Linked DNA regions of Homo sapiens: region 2 is linked to region 1. The links are contacts of gene promoters, found by promoter capture Hi-C in blood cells and fetal thymus (Javierre and others, 2016). All regions are on one chromosome and are shown on one strand. Each heading gives the region's core, a stretch centred on a gene start or on the middle of the fragment in contact. The rest is flanking DNA. Distances are from core to core; before and after follow the strand shown. Region 1 holds the start of KAT2B (lysine acetyltransferase 2B). Region 2 holds the start of ITPR1 (inositol 1,4,5-trisphosphate receptor type 1).

Region 1 (4,639 bases), core at 1,208-3,707:
CGTTAAAATAAATTTTCTCTTTCTCTTGTTGGGTCATGAAAGTGACCAGGAAACACTCAAATCCCACTTGGAAGTGGTGCTACATCTCACCCATGGAAATTTGAAAAGATCAAAAATATCAATGCAGGCCACATATGCTCATGGTTTTAGACAAAACCAAAACTTCAGGAAAGTTTTCAGATATTAAAGCTACAGCAGGCAGCAGGAAGTCTTTAAGAGGTGCTGGTGATGAGAACCCAATAAATAAATTTTAAAATAAAGCCAGAACAGAAACACTGAGTTGAGACAGTTCCTGCATGAGCCCACTTTGGCTGCGAAACGCCAAGGCCACCAAGTAATTGACCTTGCTCTTTTTTTTCATAGGTTTTTGTGGAACAGGTGGTGTTTGATTACATAAGTTCTTTAATGGTGATTTGTGAGATTTTGGTGTAGTCATCACCCAAGCAGTATGCCCTGTACCCATGACCTTGTTCTTAATTCTGTACATAGCTCGCCCTTCTGCCTACTACAGTCGGTGTCCTGTTCTCATTCGTCTAATGCCCTTCATGATCAACTCCTGGGCTTGCACCTTTCTTAGAAGCACACTCCCCACTTCATCTTTTTTGCATTCCTTCTTCAGAAATAACCACATAGCATTATTATTTGTTTCTGTCTTTTCTGCTAAAATCAAAGGGGACAAATAATATATTGTCCAGGTCTGAATTGGAATGTGGTCTGTGGACTAGCATAGCATCACTTGGGAGTTTGTCAGAAATGCAAACTCTCAGCTTCCACCTCAGACCACCTGATTCATAATCAGCATTTTAACCAGCTTCCCCAGGAGATTCCCATGCACATTAAAGTTTGAGGAGCACTGGGCTAGATCCTACATTCACTCAACAAATATTTATTGAACCAGTGTAGGATACAGAGGTGCTTAACATAAACCTGAGCATATGGTGTGGAAAAAGAGCAAGCATAGACATTCCATTGTGACTGAGAAGCTCCTGCAAGTACCAAGAAGAGTATAACCTAGATGTTCTAGTAGAATAAATTATAGTTATGTCAAAATTCAGAAGTGGTCACTGCAGCTTGGTTGTGACAATCGGGAATCTGGAATCTGGGAACTTGACCCTCTTTACAGCAGGCAGGAAGAATACAGGGAGGTGTGAGTGTGTGTGAGTGTGTCTCTTCCCTGCCTCAGCCACAGGCCGCAGGAGCTGACAAGGCCAAGTCCCCGCCCCCCTCAGCTGTCACCCTGTCAAAACAAAGCCGCTGCTGACAGCGCAGGGCCAGCCTGCCCCGCGGCCTCGGGCAATCCTCCCACCTCGGGAACACAGCCTCCACATCTGGATCTGCAGCTGGAGGTGACAGGGTGCCTAAACTGGCATGGAGAGTGGGTAGCAAGAAATGGGTGTCCTCAAACTGAGCAGTAGCGCCCGCCGCGCTGGGCTGTCACTTTGCCAAATCCTGTTTACACCTCGAGCAGCTGGGACAGCGTTTTAACTAAACAAGTAATAATACAATAATGACAGGGCTGTCACCGCGCGCGGCAGTGCCTCCGCCCCCAGCCGAGGGCGCCAGGCACCACAAGACCCTCGCCTCGGACTCTGCCCACCTTCCCACCCCGCGCTTTCCTCCCCTTCGCTTTCCCAAAGCGCCAGGAGTCCGGGAGTCTTCTCCACCCCCACTCCTTGCACCCAGTTCCTCCCAGTGGGACACAGGAAGGGATCGATTGCAGAAGGGACCACTCAGTCCCCCAAAAGATTTTTCCTTGCCCCTGGGTCACCCGCCACATGGAGAGCACCGCTCCACTCCCGGGAAAGTGACTCCAGCGAGCTCCTACAGAGCAACAAAACCCCAAGGTAGCCCGGGAGCTCGGATGCCGAAGCTACTCCTTTCAAGCGGAAGGAATGAAGGGCTCTCCGTCTTAGTGATCCCCCTTCTTCAAACCCAGCAGGACTCTTATCCAAGAAGAAGCTAATTGGGCGCGGGCGACAAGAGCACTTCCGCGGTGCAGCGGCCCCAGGCGGGAGGCGAGAGGCAGGAGGCGGGAGGCGGAGGTGGAAGCGGGAGGGGGAGGGGGGTCCCGCGGGCTGGGCCCCTAGCACCCATCCGCGGTCCGAGAGCGGCGAGCGCGTACCTTGCAGGCGGAGTACACTCCGAGTTTCTCCAGTTTCTTGGCCCGCGGAGCGGAGCGTAGTTGCGCTTTCTTCACGGCGATTCGGGCCGAGCCACCGCCTCCCGGTCCTTCGGCCGTGCCCGCTGCAGCCACTGCCGTCGCCGGACCGCAGGCGCCCGAGCCCCCGGCGGCAGCGGCGCAGGGGGAGCCCTGCGGGGGCGCGGGCGGAAGCGCCGCAGGCTGCGGGGGCAGCGCCCCGGGCCCGGCCCCTGCCCCGGCTCCTGCCCCGCAGCCGCCCGGCCCGGCCCCGCCAGCCTCGGACATGCCGCCCCGGAGCACGGCAGGAGGCGCCGAGTGTCAGGCGCCGCCGCCGCCGCCAGGGTCTCCCTCTCGGGCTCTGGTAGTCGGGAGAGCGAGACCCTCCCCCCACGCCCTCCCGCCCCCTTCGCCCACCCCCCTCCCCGCCCCCGCCCTCCCCCTAGCGCGCCGCTCGCCCGGCTCGCTCTGGCCGGGCCCCGCGCGCTGATGGTGGTGGCGGCGGCGGCAGCGGCGGCAGCTGCTCCCCCAGGAGGGAGGGGACTAGCGGCTCCGCTGCCGCTGCCGCCGCCGCCACAGCACACGCCCTCCCTTGGTTCTCCTGCCCGGGACTCTGCTCCGCGCCCTGGCTGCGGACATGTTCCTCGGGACTGCGGACTAGGTGTGCGTGCCGGCGGCTGCCAGCCTCACGGTGTCTGCCAGCGCTGGGAGGCCCCCCACGGCCTCTTTTCCGCTGCCCGCGGGGTTTGCACCCCCCACCCCAGTGCTTCGACACCTACCGCTCGCCCGCCAGGGGGCGAGGCCAATCCCTGGGTGTGGGTGAGGGTGGGGACGAGGGTGGGGGTAGGGGCCTGGAGCCCAGGCACCTGCTGGCCACCTCCCCCCTCCGCGGCCCCCCATCCGACCCCCGCACGCCTGCACCAGTGGGAGGGGGCAGCCTCTCAATCATTTGTCCTTTCACTCTCTTCCACCCTGTCTCTGACAGAGAGACAACTTCCTCCACCCTAGCGGGAGCCAGAGGAAAAAAAATATATTTTTGAAAAGTACCCGTCCATGCTAATCTTTTTCTTTGTTGCTAATTCACCAAAATAAAGACGTGATGTTCTCCCTTTCTCTTTTTAAATACTTTCTGTCAAACTATTTTTTAATATAATTAACACTTTCTTCCCATAGCAATTTCTGGGTCAAATCTGCCGGAGGAGGGGAAAAAAACTTACTATTCTCTGTAATTTTTGTTTGAAAGTGCTGGTTGCTAAAAGAAAGATTGTCTAAAAAGCATTGTCAAAAACTATGCAGTGGAAAAAGTTTGAATACAAAAAGTTTGTTAACAGGATTCGTTTCTGGGTGGTGGTTCTATAACGTTACGTAGTTTTCAAAATTGTGCCACCGCGTGCGTATTAACCAGGAAAAAGATATAAGCATAATTCAAAAGAATAAATATCGATTTTGGCCTCAAACTTTAAAAAGAAAAAAAAAACCCTCAACTCAGTGTTTCCAACTCTTGTTGAAAACTGTTGTTTTCACTGTTGATGACTGTGGAGCATACAAGTCAGTGCTGCGTTTGAAAGTGGTGTACCGTTGATCGCCTTCTTAAGCAGGTTTTAAAAGCCCAGGGCTTTTTCTCAGGACCCTTCAGAAGTGCCCTACTTTTTGTTATATGCAATGTGGGTCATAATGTGCTTATTATCAGATTTTATGCATGCTGTATAGCTCTCAGGCCAGACGCTTTAAGGGGTGTGCTTTTCGTGGGAAACATTCCCCTTCTTCTTTTTCCAGATTCTCTGTGTTATTTTGACTTGTAATGCAGGTTAATATATAAACATTGGGAGGTGGGGGAGTTTGTAGATCTAAACAGTGATATTAGCTTAGACAGGGCAAAAGGCAATATTCTCTCCCAACTTGAGTCCAGTCTTGAGGGGATGAAATGGCAGATTCTTATCAGGTTCCATTCAGGACAATTAATTTCAGTGCTTCCTTTCTTAGCTTGACGTGCTTCACGTTACCAGTGTTACTCTCTCCTGGCTCTGCTGAGATGTTTCGCAGATTTTTGCCATTCTCCGCAAAGCAGGGTGAGAGTCTTAAAGGCTGTGCTTCTCTGATCAACCTCTAACATGGATTTAACAGATACTAATAAGAGCTTGGGTTCCACCTTGCAGGCATTTGTCAAACTGATGGAATGATCCACTTGAGATCTGTACATTTCACTGGATATAAATGTTGCCTCAAAAATTTTTAAAAAAAGAAAAATCACAAGCATTGAACTCTAATGGTGCTCTTTGTACTTTGAGATACATCAAAAATAAGATGTATGGATGCCTCCATGCATGGGTAAAGGGTGGATGAACAGAGATATGATAAAGCAAATAGGGGTCCATATAATAGAGTCTAGGTAATGGGCACAGTGCGCAATTCTTTCAACTTTTCTGTATGTTTGAAAATTTTCACAGTGACAATTGGGGGAGGGAACCCAGATTTAACATTAAGTCACCTATCAACTCCTCC
Region 2 (4,554 bases), core at 736-3,235, about 16 Mb after region 1:
ATTCAAAGAGCAGATTGTACTTTCAGTGTACATATGCATACACACACACACACACACACATGAACTTGAAAGAAAAAATGGAGAACAAAAACGTCTGCACAACTGGCTGCAAAGCAAACTGGAAGGTATATGAAAAGGTATCAACATTTCACATTGCAGTCTAACTGCAGTTTAAACTTTCGAATTATTCAGATGGGGAAACGCCTGATCCTTTTAACCTACTCAGATTCTTTGATGTAAACAATCAAGATGTATTTCAGCTAGGAGGTGAGCCTAATGCTTAACTTACATAATGTTCCTTGTGGTTTTGTTTCTTTTTACTCTCCCCATTCAGGCTTTCCAAAATGAACTCATTACAGTATCTAATACCTCCTCAAATATCTGCACTCTTTTATCCCTATGTTTGTGGCTACATCCTTTCCTTCTTACATCAATGTTATGTATTATTTCATCATTGGTGGGAGGTATGCAAGTTATTTCATCAGTAGCAGTAAGTTTACCATTTTTCCTAGCTTCCCTCTCACCACCAGCATCCCCAAATCAACTGAGGTCCATTTGTGGGATGCAGTACAGCCTCACCGCCTGAGGTTACACCCTGCTCCTACTTTGTACTAGCTACTGGGCAAGTGATTTCACTCTCTGCACCTCAGTTTCTTCACCTGCATCTGACGCACAGGGTTTCTGAGATACATGGCTCTGGACCTGGCTTACAAGTACTTAATGTGTCCATCTTATTATTTTTAGCAACCAGTTAGAAAAGAGTCTGTGGACCAGTTTTTCCTTGCTGTACAGCTAATTCTGAAAAGGGGAACTGGGCCTAATCCTTGGCTCTATGAGCACCCACACAGCCATGTGAGTCAACAGAACTCCAAGAAGAAACTAGAGTTCTCACATCCAAATGCTTCTCACTCCGCCAGTACTCCTGAGGATCTTATCAACAGGAAACAAAAGCACTATACCACTATAATGAAGTGTCTGACTTTTATTTTCTCATTAGAAAAGCCCAAAGATTGTAGCCCAGGGAACAGCTAAATATTTAGAATGTTAAAAAAGTTATTAAGACCCAGCCACCCACCCCCACCTACCTCTGTTACCCTGTTATTTACCATGTTCCTGAACATTTCAGGAGAAAAAACTCCTGATAGCCAAATCTGCAGCAATAGTGATGTACGTGCACCCGTTGAAACCTCCCACTCTTCAAATGCAGTCTGACCATTTTGGGGAAAAAATAGGAACTGTTGTGTTTACAGATAAATGCTGCTCTCAGCTCATATTCCACCACGGGCCCCAAAACAACAGGGACCTGCCAGATTCCTTGACACTCAGGTGGCTTGAGTCAAGGGCTGGATGCTACCACCTTAAGCTTCAATAACTCACTTCCCTTTTTAAAGTTCTAATTCTTTCAACTTGCAGCAACCACTTTCATTTCTTGCAATCCAACCTACTCTGATTAAGCACACGTTCAAAATTAGAAAAGAGTGACTATTTCTTGAAGGAGAGAGGCAGTTAATACTGCTTACACATTTTGGCATATGAAATGCACTGTATCCTTCAGAATTTAAATCATCAGCATGCTTTTCAGACCGGCAATGGGCCGCCGTTTTATTGCTCCATTTAATGGCCTTTTCCCCTCCTCTCTCATAAACTTTCAGGCTCCTTCAATTCTCAGCTACTTCCAAGAAACGGACTGTCCACTGGACCTCTGCTCCCAAAAGCCCTCACCAAAGGCAGAGGCAAATTTTGAAGACTGAGCCACGGAGTTTCTTTTTCTTTCTTACTCCCCACCTCCTTGGCGGTTTAGATAGAACTTAAAATAGGCTTAGGACAAAAACTCATTATTGACTACAGCACTCAGGCTTCCACACTCACCTGACCTGGGTCAGGCACTCTGTTGCCAAAGCAAGCCCAGCGAGGGGTGCAAATCCTGCTCCTCTGTAGTCAGCTCCTAAATATTTAGAAAGAAAGAAGACTGAGTACCAGACCGCGGAAGATGAGCTCTAACAGAAATGCTCCAAATTACAAGTTTCCACCTTCTTTAGCCTCCTTCACTGGGGACAGCCCCCCCGCCCCCAAACTTGGTAGGCAGGTTGGTGGGATCGCTTGGGCGAAGATTCCAGGTAACTACGCTTACTTATTTCCAGGATGTAACTGACAATTGAGACTAGGCACGCACAAACTTCGAACGTGCGGGAGGCTGGAACTAAGGGAAGTGTTTGGCAGATCCCAAAGCACTTGTTTCCCGGCGAGAAGGCCAAGTATCCGAAGCCCGCATCCTCATTGGACATGAGCTTCGTCCACACTTCATCCCTCACCGCTTCTCCGGTTTTCTTCCGTTTTTAAAAACCCTCCCCACGGGGGGCCCCTACACATGCATTATTCTCCCAACCACGGAGCGCAAGAGAGGGATACATTTTTAGAAAGATTATTTCCTTGAGCAGACTCACATATGACACCCCCACAACCTCTCTTCAAAAAAAAAAAAAAAAAAAGAACTATTTCCTGCAGCTGCAGCAACAGTTTCCAACTTGGGGGAATGCCACATCAGACCAGAATGGGGAGCCCCCAAAGCCACGCACTAGAGTAGAGGATATTTGTTTTTTAAGCTTCAAATGAGCTCCCCCCAAAACAACTGCCCGCAGTAAAGGAACCCCCAAATGCATGCCAAGTGCATGCACATCCATCAAGATCTCCCCGAGAGCGGGGCAAAAACTTCTGCGCCCGGGGAGCCAGTGCCAACTCCCCGCGCCCTCTGCCCGGCCCCAGCCGCTACCTTGGTGCCCGGGGAGCCACGCCGGTTTGGGGGAGCAGGGCGAGGAGAGGGGTTAGCAGCCGCTGGGTAATCCCATGTCCGCGAAGAGGGAGCTCGTTCCGTTAGGATGGAAGCGGAACACCCACACCTCCTCTCGGCGTGCGCTTTCTCTCTCTCCACCCCCTGCCTCCTCCTCCACCACCACCTCCTCCTCCTCCTCTCCTCCCACCCCAGCGAGCTTGAGGAAACGCTTCAGCAGCACATCCACATGGTTACTGCACTTTAAAGCGGCTCCGGGTGGCTTATATAGGCCGGGAAGCTCCCTGGGCAATGTAGTCCAAGTAGCGGGTCGTGGCGGCGCCTGAGGCTGCGGGGAGGGACTACAAGTCCCAGAATCCCCTGGGCGCCCGGGCTGGGCCCTAAATAGACGCGTGCGGGGACAGGGGAGGGGCGTCCTGCGAGGCTTTCAGGCTGCTGAGCCTGTTCCTTGGCTGGGGTCGGTAGGGCTTGGAGCCAGCCGTTCAAAGTCACCCCTGGGAAGCGCCCGCAACCCTTGGGGACGCCTCTCCTCCGGCTGCCCCCCTTCCCTGGAATCCAGGTGTCACTGGGGCCGGGGAGGGGCTAGGAGCTCGGATTTCTGCTTTGGGAAGTTTTTACAAGCCCACCCTCCCCCTGCCTTGGTTCCCCGAGCCAAGAATTTCAGAAATCCGGGGCACAAAAACGCCAGTGTTTGCGGTCAAGGATTAAAGGCGCGAGGTGTCTTTATTTAATCTGCTCCGCCCTGCTCGGGTTTGCACGAGAAACCAAGCCTGGGAGCGACGGTCCACGCAAGCGGAGACACAGGCAAGTCGCGTGAGAGCACTTTTCTGAGCCCGAGTTGCTTGTCTTTTATCGCCCGTGAGGAGGTAAAGAAAGGCAGACCTCTCCGGTGCACAAATAAAGGAGCCGTGTTGTGACTTGCCGGCTCTGAGATTGGGAGGCAGAAAATAAATACAAACCGCGACCTCAGTCCTGACCGTACCTCTAGCAGCCCCTCTGCTCCTGGGAGCTGTAAATGCTTAAGTAAATAAACCGCAAACCAGAAAAATAAGGGCTTAGGAAAGAGCCGCTCACACAGAGATGCGCATCCAGGCGGGGCGCTCTCCAAGAGCTCCGAATGGGGCAAGGTGGGTTTCACCCGCTGCCAAGTAATGCCTGGGCTCCCGGGCTACACGCTGCTTAGGGCTCCGGCTTTTGCAAGGAGGGGAAGAGCTAAGCCCGGAGGCAGTCAGCCGACTGCCCTGTCTTGCCTCAAATGACGTATATTCATTCCTCAAACGTTTCCTGAGTGTTTACTAGGTGCCAGGCGCTGGGGCATAGTGGTGAGCCAAACGCATTATAGCATCCCAGACAGGCACTTCCTGACGCCGCCTAAAGATCTGTTATAACAATAGTAATAATAATGATAATAATCAATGGGGAGGCTGATTTTATTGAGCCCAGACCACATGCAGTTTTCATGCGTCATGCTATTGAGTTTTACCAACTGTAGGTATATTTATTATATCTATTTGGCAGGTGCACAATCCAGGGCTCAGAGAAATCAGGTAACTTCCCAAATGACCCCTCGAGTTAAGTGGTACAGCCTGGACTCCCGTTCCAGACTCTACGTGTATGAAACCCTTGTCTTTGGGGAAATCCACCGCCATTGCCTTAAATAGCCTCTCTCCCCATTTAGGAGCAGCCTCTGAGCCCTTGGGCAAGTCATTTTCATCTCTTTGCCCCAGTTTTGCCATCTGAAGGAAATTCTTATTAGAATATGTCTA

The links. The method cuts DNA at HindIII sites, captures the fragments that hold promoters and counts their contacts. A CHiCAGO score of 5 or more calls a contact.
Region 2: a fragment that was not itself captured here is called in contact with the fragment with the promoter of KAT2B in region 1 in 1 of 17 cell types (total CD4 T cells); the score reaches 5.2 in total CD4 T cells.

The regions. Positions count from the first base shown.
Region 1 is chr3:20,038,264-20,042,902 of GRCh38, reverse strand. It overlaps KAT2B (lysine acetyltransferase 2B), which reads right to left and starts at 2,457. Exons shown (of 18, transcript NM_003884.5): 1 at 2,123-2,457. The coding sequence starts at 2,425. RefSeq lists enhancers at 956-1,145, 1,862-2,832 and silencers at 1,996-2,055, 2,256-2,385, 2,556-3,195. The HindIII fragment of the contact is 5,734 bases long and covers 1-4,639 here.
Region 2 is chr3:4,491,822-4,496,375 of GRCh38, reverse strand. It overlaps ITPR1 (inositol 1,4,5-trisphosphate receptor type 1), which reads right to left and starts at 3,028. Exons shown (of 62, transcript NM_001378452.1): 1 at 2,771-3,028; 2 at 1,870-1,945. ITPR1-DT (ITPR1 divergent transcript) reads left to right here and starts at 3,213. Exons shown (of 2, transcript NR_108075.1): 1 at 3,213-3,592. RefSeq lists silencers at 1,097-1,391, 2,690-2,959. The HindIII fragment of the contact is 1,240 bases long and covers 1,366-2,605 here.